Regions from separate parts of the Homo sapiens genome. Here region 1 is linked to region 2. The links are contacts of gene promoters, found by promoter capture Hi-C in blood cells and fetal thymus (Javierre and others, 2016). All regions are on one chromosome and are shown on one strand. The core of a region is centred on a gene start or on the middle of the fragment in contact, and the rest is flanking DNA. Distances in the headings are between cores, read along the strand shown.

Region 1 (4,161 bases), core at 1,634-4,133, 120 kb after region 2:
AGCGATGGGGTTTCACCGTGTTGGTCAGGCTGGTCTCGAGCTCCTGACCTCAGGTGATCCGCCCAGCTTGGCCTCCGAAAGTGCTGGGATTACAGGTGTGAGCCACCATGCCCATGTGTCTGGAATTGGTGGGTTCTCGGTCTCACTGACTTCAAGAATGAAGCCGCGGACCCTTGCAGTGAGTGTTACAGTTCTTAAAGATGGTGTGTCCGGAGTTTGTTTCTTCTGATGTTCGGACATGTTCGGAGTTTCTTCCTTCTGGTGGGTTCGTGGTCTTGCTGGCTTCAGGAGTGAAGCTGCAGACCTTCGTGGTGAGTGTTACAGCTCTTAAGGCGGCGCATCTGGAGTTGTTAGTTCCTCCTGTCTGGAGTTGTTCATTCCTCCCGGTGGGTTCGTGGTCTCGCTGGCCTCAGGAGTGAAGCTGCAGACCTTCGCAGTGAGTGTTACAGCTCATAACGGCAGTGCGGACCCAGAGTGAGCAGCAGCAGCAAGATTTATTGCAAAGACTGAAAGAACAAAGCTTCCACAGTGTCAAAGGGGACCCGAGCAGGTTGCCGCTGCTGGCTTGGGCAGCCTGCTTTTATTCCCTTATCTGGCCCCACCCGCATCCTGCTGATTGGTCCATTTTACAGAGAGCTGATTGGTCCGTTTTGACAGGGTGCTGATTGGTGCGTTTACAATCCCTGAGCTAGACACAGAATGCTGATTGGTGCATTTACAATCCTCTAGCTAGACATAAAAGTTCTCCAAGTCCCCACTAGATTAGCTAGACACAGAGCACTGATTGGTGCATTTACAAACCTTGAGCTAGACATAGAGTGCTGACTGGTGCTTTTACAATCCTCTAGCTAGACATAAAAGTTCTCCAAATCCCCACCAGATTAGCTAGATACAGAGTGCTGATTGGTGCATCCACAAACCCCAAGCTAGACACAGAGTGCTGATTGGTGCATATACAATCCTCCGGCTAGACATAAAAGTTCTCTAAGTCCCCACCCGACTCAGGAGCCCAGCTGGCTTTGCCTAGTGGATCCCACGCCGGGGCTGTGGGTGGAGCTGCCCATCAGTCCAGCGCTGCGCGCCTGCACCCCTCAGCCCTTGGGCGGTCGATGGGACTGGGCGCTGTGGAGCAGGGGGCGGCGCCCATCAGGGAGGCTCGGGCAGCATGGGAACCCACCAGGGGCGGGGTGGGGGCCTTGGGCATGGCGGGCTGCAGGTCCCGAGCCCTGCCCTGCGGGGAGGTGGCTGAGGCCCGGCGAGAATTCGAGTGTGGCGCTGGTGGGCTGGCATTGCTGGGGGACCCGGGGCACCCTCCTCAGCAGCTGGCCCAGGTGCTAAGCCCCTCATTGCCCAGGGCTGGCGGCGCCGGCCAGCTGCTCCGAGTGTGGGGCCCATTGAGCCTGCGCCCACCCAGAACTCGCTCTGGCTTGTGAGCGCCACGCGCAGCCCCGGTTCCTGCCTGCGCCTCTCCCTCCACACCTTCCCACAAGCAGAAGGAGCCGGCTCCAGCCTTGGCCAGCCCAGAGAGGGGCTCCCACAGTGCAGCTGTGGGCTGAAGGGCTCCTCAAGCGTGGCGAGAGTGGGTGCCAAGGCCAAGGAGGTGCTGAGAGCGAGCAAGGGTTGCCCGCACGCTCTCACCTCTCACCCAGCCTATAAGAGTACTTCTGCTTTCAAAAAAGACATGTCTGTGGCATGAAAACATGCCACACATACACAAAAAGTGCCCTCCTGAACTAGAGGGCAGATCCTCACACTGACTTAACATGCTGGCATTTAAGAATATCAAGAACTGAATAAAGAAAATGATCTGCCCAACTGCGGGTAGTTCATCTGTCTGAGTCAGAGGTTCTTATGCCTTCCTGGGGAGGAAGTTATGATGCCGCGAAGAAATTGGCACTGCTGAGTTCTACATGCAGTTGCTACAGGGAGGAGTCTTCATTTAGCTTTAAGCGAAATACAGCTTAAAAATATCTTACCTGTATTCTGTACATCAACTTGTGATGGATTGAGGCCAGTTCTGGTTCTTGGAATGATATTTTTCTCTTTGTTAGAGCCATTTTGTTCTAATAGCTGTGATGATCCAATCAAGAAAGATGAAATGGAAGACAGTGAGATGTCAAGGATTGAATAGGACGTAGAACCAGAAGATAGAGGTTGAAGGTACCGCTTTGCCCCTGACCAGGGGTAAATTCTTCAATAACTGACTCTGTCCGGATAAGGAGGATAATAATGCTCTACCAGCTTCAGTTACCGTGTTAGGGGATCAATAATATATGCTATGTAGATTAAGCCATAGAAAAGTTAAAGCTTGAAACATTTGTTGGGCAGCTGAACCATGAAGTGAATGAAATTAATTCGCCTTCAAGTGGAAACATGAGATCCACAAGCCAGCTTTTACTTCACACTTCCACCTTGGAGTCTTGAATACCTCTCTGTCTTCCTTGCTTGCCATCTGTTCTCTTACTTTTGATGCTGTTATTGTCCAAGATGTTCTCTCTTAGAATAGCTGGTAATGATAGCACAATGCATAGATGGGCTCAGTCCACAGAAGCTACGTGAATTCTCCCAGTAACAGATGAGGAAATTGAGGCTCAGAGATGTTCAGTAGCTTGCCTAAGGTTGCATAAGCTAGTGAGTGGCAGAGCCCAGATTCAAACCAGATACACTTCAAAAGCAAGCGCTCTCAGCTACTGTGCCGGATATACCATTCATTCAGAATAGCGTGGGCTAAGCCCACTCTGTGTTGTGAGACAGAGAACATTCAGACTAAGACATGCATGACCTGTCCTGTGGGAGCCACTCTTCACCAGAGGCACTTCTGCACACACCCGCGTCTCATGCATTTTCCCTGGTCAAATTCAACCATTTGTTCTCCTTAGTGTCTTTGTTGCTGAGCTCATGTAAAAAAACACTGGAGTCTCCAGATTAGTTCTATGTGGGTTCATGCTTCCCAGATGCCATCGGACTGTGTGTTCTCCTCTTGTCCTTGGTCAGTTCCCTCTCCCATCCCTCACAGGGACTGGTCTTGACACTCTCTGGGTTTTACTGAATGTTACATGTTTATGTTGAAGAGATTGCTGATGTTAGACGTTAGGATTTATTTGGCAGTGCAAGAGTTTGTGTTTCTCTTTCTTTGAGGATCTCTATATTGTTATTAATGGTGGTGTTGAGGAAACCACGGAGCTCCTGAAGCAGCGATTTGACCACATTTTCTATACGGGAAACACTGCGGTTGGCAAAATTGTCATGGAAGCTGCTGCCAAGCATCTGACCCCTGTGACTCTTGAACTGGGAGGGAAAAGTCCATGTTATATTGATAAAGATTGTGACCTGGACATTGTTTGCAGGTGAGTCTGGCTCTCTGATTTTCTGAGGTTTTCCCAGCACAATGGAGACTTTTCCTGACAATGTTACTCTTTGTACTTGAACCCCATACCTTATGGCTCCAAGATACATTATTAAGCTTTGGTGGTTGATGTCCTCAAGAGTAACAGGAGTCTTTCACTGTCTCTTGGCGCCACTGTCAAAAATGGTGAGCTGTAAGTCCTGACATCATGTGGTTGTCCTTAGGAATTTTAAAAAAGTTATATCTGTTCTCAAGATTACAGCTAGATCTAGCAAGAAATTTTAACGTTCTTCTGGCCAGTGATCTGTGAAGTACATAATCCAAAGTATTGTGTGTGCCTAATAAAATCTTTAAATGCCCATTTGAGAGGGTATTATGCTGATATCTTAACTGAGATCCTTTGTGGGCAAAACAAGTGTTCCTCATTTTTTAACTGTGAATAACATCTTGCATCTGAAAATTAGAAAATAAGAGGTTTCAGGTTCTCTCTGCTAAATCCGGTTTAGCTACTAAGAAGTGCCAAATCATAGAACTGACTCTGTGCTCTGGGTGGTGTGGCTTTCTCTGCCCTTCAGAGATTCCAGGTCAGGGTTCCAGGTTGGCTTCCTAAGTAGAAATCCATTTGTCAAAACCAGACACCCTCAGTTAGTGAATGTTTAGGGCATGGGTTTCTGCCCATGCATAGGAAAGGTCTTCCCAAGTGGGGCAGGGCTCCACAAAGAGGAGGATGGCCTTGGAGGCTGGCTGACATCCTGCTTTATACCTGAACATCTTGCAGGCAGAGCCAAAAGCCACAACCAGGAGAGTCTGTACCG
Region 2 (4,941 bases), core at 2,372-4,871:
AGGAATCAGTGACAGCTAAACATTAGGAAATCTACAATGAACTTACACTAACAACCGAAAAGAGAAGAAAAATTTGATTATTTCAATTAATACTAAATATATATATATATATATAGAGCACAGTGGCTCATGCCTGTAATCCCAGCACTCTTGGAGGCCAAGGCAGGAGGATCACTTTGAGCTCAGGAGTTTGAGACCAGCCTAGGCAATATAGTGAGACCTCTTTGTCTCTATAAAAAATATGAAAATAGGCTGGGCATGGTGCCTCATGCCTGTAATCCCAGCACTTTGGGAGGCCAAGGCAGGTGGATTACCTGAGGTTGAGACCAGCCTGACCAACAAGGAGAAACCCCAACTCTACTAAAAAAAAAAAAATTCAAAATTAGTCGGGTGTGGTGGCACATGCCTGTAATCCCAGCTACTCGGGAGGCTGAGGCAGGTGAGTTGCTTGAACCCAGGAGGCAGAGGTTGCGGTGAGCCAAGATCGCACAATTGCACTCCAGCCTGGACAACAAGAGTGAAACTCTGTCTCAAAAAAAAAAAAAAAAAAAAAAAGGAACAAGAAAACAAAATTAGCCGGGTGTGGTGGCACATGCCTGTAGTCCCAGCTCTTCAGGAGGCTAAGGTGGGAGAATTGCTTGAGCCAGGGAGGTCGAAGCTGCTTTGAGCCGAGATCAAACCATTGCATTCCAGTCCAGGCGACAGAGAGAGACCCTGTCCCCCCGAAAAGAAAAAAAAAAAACCCTGATAAAATTCAATTTTAATACATGCTTTTAATAATATATTTCAGCAAGTTAAGAACCGTATATGAACATACTTATGACTATTTATCAAGCATCAATAACAAATTCATCATATCCCTAGTCCAGTGAGTCTCCCATTCCCTAGATGAGTACTGATTAGACTAGGGATATGATTGAAATAGAAGACAGAATTTTAACGAGGTGCATTCTTTCTGAATAAATCTGCAGATATAATGCAATGTCAATCAAAATCCTAACACTTTCCAAGTAACAGGGTTCTTTGTTCTTTTAATTGTTTTGTTTTTTGTTTTTTATTGAGATAGGGTCTCACTCTGCTGCCCAGGCTGGAGTGCTGTAGTGCAATCATAGCTCACTGCAGCCTCAAACTGCGGGGCTCAGTCGATCCTGTCACCTCAGCCTCCCAAAGTGCTGGGGCTACAGGTGTGGGCTACTCACCTGTACAATGTGCTCAGCCAACCACACGTTGTTTTAAAAGCTATTTACCAGCCAATAGAGCTACTTCTTTCCTCCTTACTTTTCTTTTTCAGAGTTTTTGTTATATCTTTTCCTGTTTACACTATCAATTGCTTTTAGAATCATTCTATTAAATTTTAAAATAATGGAATACACAGTAGTGGACTAAAACCTAATATATTAATTGAAAATTAATTTTCCTGTGCTACTTTTTGGAAGGAAGTCACTGTGTACAATCCACCTTTAAGGAGTGAGGAGTTATGCTCTGTATCACGAGGACCTTTTGTTTTTTGTTGCTATTGTGAAAGATTTCTTTTAGTATTTTCATATATGTTATTACCAATATAAAGGACTGATATGACTTGTTGAAGAACTTCTATGTAGCAACTTTATTAAACCCCTTTATCAATTCTATTAGCTTTTGTTCATATTTTATTTCTTTGGGTTGTGTGGATTTTTTTTAAGAGATGGGGTCTCACTGTGTTGCCCAGGCTGGTCTCAAAACTCCTGGGTTCCAGTGATCCTCCCACCTCGGCCTTCCAAAGTGTTGGGATTATAGGCATGAGCCACTGTGCCTGGCCCGGTCTGTCAATTTCTACTGTGAGTAATCCCTTTGCCTTTTCTTTCCTAACATTATACATTACATTTCCATTTCCTGTCTTATTACATCAGTCAGGACTTCCAGAAAATTATCAAAAAACAGCAGTGATCAGAGATCTAGTGAATATCCTCGGGTATTTGTCTGTTGACACTCTCAGTTCTTTTGGGAAACTGCGCTACTCCATATGTACAGTCCTTGTGGGACGAGACCAGTCACAGGGCACCTAACCCTAACCCTGTAGGTTCAAAGCTGGGTGCATGGTCCAGGGCCAGCCAAACATCAGACCCTATTTTCCCACCCAGGGCGATTGTTCCAGAGGTGGGCAAGAAACCTAAGCAGGGCCAACCAGATTTTCTCCCAGTTTTTTGTTTGTTAGTTTGGAACCAGAAGAGAGGAGGGGAGGGCCTTACTTTCTGGTTTAACAGACGGGAAAGATAGGAACGAGGGTATCAGAGGCCACCACTGTCACTTGCACAGGAAGAGAAAGGCTGCCGGCAGAGGAGGAAGAGAAACTACGGAAAGAATCCCAAGGGGCGAGGAGAAGGGAGGAGAGGGACAGAGATGGGAAGAGGGACAACAAGAATGATCTGGTTTTGTTTTTTTTTTTTTTTTGAGTGGAGTCTCCCTCTGCCACCAGGCTGGAGTGCAGTGGCGAGATCTCGGCTCACTGCAACCTCTGCCTCCCGGGTTCAAGCAATTCTCCTGCCTCAGCCTCCCTAGTAGCTGGGATTATGGCGCGCGCCACCATGCACAGCTAATTTTCGGTACAGACGGTGTTTCACCATGTTGGCCAGGATGGTCTCGATCTCTTGACCTTGTGATCCGCCCGCCTAGGCCTCCCAAAGTGCTGGGATTACAGGCGTGAGCCACCGCGCCTGGCCTAATGACCTTGTTTTCAAATCCCTGAATCCAAACTTCCTGATTATGTGAGCCAAAAAATTTGTTTTCCATTTTCTCTACTTACATTGGATCATTACAACGGAAGGAATTTTGACTATTAGAGAAATCAATCTTGTCCTGGTAACTGACACTTATTAGGTAACGGCTGGTGCCAGGCTGAGGGCAGGTGGCACTGACTCCGGTCCTCCGCCCAGGCAACCCCAGTCTTCACAGCTGGCGACGAGTGTTCTTTCACGTTTGCAGATGAGGAAGCTGAGGCTCTGGGAGGAAAGCGCGCTGCTCCTGCCCTTCTGGGCCGCAGCCTCTCGTACTCCCACAGCAGGCTTGATGGATAAACTTCCAACACGACCAGCTGGCACAAACTGTGCTACTTGGCAAATGGGAGCATGTTGCTCTATCCTGGTAGATTCTAAGTTCTCTAATGGAACAACTGATGAGAGGAGAGGAGTATGCAACACCCTAACCAGCATCAAAGGGTGTACCCAACTCAATCTGCACAGCAAATGCGCCCAACCCCACACACCCCGCGGGGTGCTAACCGAGTCACGGCTCGAGGCCTCTGGGTCCTTCCACGCCAGGTCATTCAGAACCTGAAACCCCCAGCGGAGGTGGAGAGCCGGGGTGAGTCCTGGCGTCCGAGACGTGGAGGACCCAGCCCCCGGAGCGCGTTCCGTTAGTTTACAGAGCTTTTTCAAACTTTGCCTTCCAAGTGCAGGAGTTCCTTGGTCTTTGCAAGACCCGCAGGCGTCCGCAGTGGTGCAGAGAGAGGTGCAAGGGGCGCGCCCAAGGTCGCAGGCTGCCTGGCTGCGCGCTCAGTCGGGCCCCCGGGCGCCAGGCGCGGGGCGGGCTCTGGGCGGGCGGCCGGGGCGGGGACTGCAGAGCAGGCTGCACTGCGCGGTACCCACTGCCGGCCTGCGCGGTACTCACTGCCGGCCTCCGCGGTACCCACTGCCGGCCTCCGCGCTACCCGGCCGCAGCGCGCGAGTCACATGGAAGCTCCTGAGGAGCCCGCGCCAGTGCGCGGAGGCCCGGAGGCCACCCTTGAGGTCCGTGGGTCGCGCTGCTTGCGGCTGTCCGCCTTCCGAGAAGAGCTGCGGGCGCTCTTGGTCCTGGCTGGCCCCGCGGTGAGTAAGGTGGCCTCAGTGGCAGGCCGGTACCGGCGGGCTGGGGACCTGGTGATTTCTGCCTCCGCGGGTGACTTTGGCGGGCTTTGGGGACCGAGCGAGCTGTCCGCCGGCGGGCTCCGGGGAGCATCGTGCCAGGAGCCGGGCGGGCACCCCAGCTCCTCTGCCTGCGTCCCGGCCGCTTTCCGCTCCGCACCACCCGACTGGGGGCCCCGCGGGGCACTGCGGGAACGGCTGGTACGCGCCCGGGCGCATGTTGGCTCGGAGAGGCCGGCGGCTCCAGCCTCCTGCGCCAGGAGACACCGGAGAGCTGGGACCTTTGCCCCTAACGGGGCTCTACCAGGTCCAGGCTGCATTTGCATCCGGGGGTGCCTTCTCTGGGAGCTGATTCCGGCCAATAAAACGCAAGTTGCCTGAACTTCAAAACACAAGGGAACTTGTTTCTTTGAAAAGTAGCGGTCAAAAGTTCGGGAGCTCTGCGATCTAAATAATCCCGAGGCACGGAGGAGGGGGTGCGTGGTCTGTCGTGGACTCAGAGCTGCGAAATGATTTCTTCAGAATTCAGTCAACCTCTACCGAGGAAACCAGAGGCATCCTGTACCACCCCCTCCCCGCCAGTAATTATGTATGTGAAAGAAAAAAGGGGTTTTAATGTGGTTCTTTGTGGGGTCGAGGTGTTCTTATCTGTGGGATTCTTTTCTTTTTAATCATTAGGTTAGGGCTGTTTCTGCCTTGTCTCCTAAAAATAATGTGGTTTTAAAAACCACAAAAACACAATCCTATCCACGTTCTCCTGCCAGCTTGGGTGGTTTTCAAACCGAGAGGGTAGGACGCGGCACAAGAAGCAACTGGTATGCACTTAAGGCGTGAATAAGCTTTTGACTTTGAGGCCCACATTCTGCACCTGCGCGGGCTGAGGGGGGCCGCTGTGCCTCTGGAGTGGGGGCTCGGTAGTTTGTGGGATATTGTGGCACCCGCTGTGGTGTGCAGGACAGCAAGGGTAATGCCGAGGTCAAAGCCATGGAATAAGATCCATCAGCCATGCTTTCTCACAGACCAGAAAGAACTCATGATTTGGGGCTGGGCGCGGTGGTTCACG

Evidence for each region. The method cuts DNA at HindIII sites, captures the fragments that hold promoters and counts their contacts. A CHiCAGO score of 5 or more calls a contact.
Region 1: a fragment that was not itself captured here is called in contact with the fragment with the promoter of SLC47A1 in region 2 in 2 of 17 cell types (M0 macrophages and M1 macrophages); the score reaches 6.2 in M0 macrophages.

What each region holds. Positions count from the first base shown.
Region 1 is chr17:19,653,228-19,657,388 of GRCh38, forward strand. It overlaps ALDH3A2 (aldehyde dehydrogenase 3 family member A2), which reads left to right. Exons shown (of 10, transcript NM_000382.3): 4 at 3,139-3,347. Among named protein-coding and RNA genes, the nearest start is that of ALDH3A2, 6.6 kb to the left of the region's middle. The HindIII fragment of the contact is 1,156 bases long and covers 2,306-3,461 here.
Region 2 is chr17:19,530,233-19,535,173 of GRCh38, forward strand. It overlaps SLC47A1 (solute carrier family 47 member 1), which reads left to right and starts at 3,622. Exons shown (of 17, transcript NM_018242.3): 1 at 3,622-3,842. The coding sequence starts at 3,708. The HindIII fragment of the contact is 8,699 bases long and covers 1-4,715 here.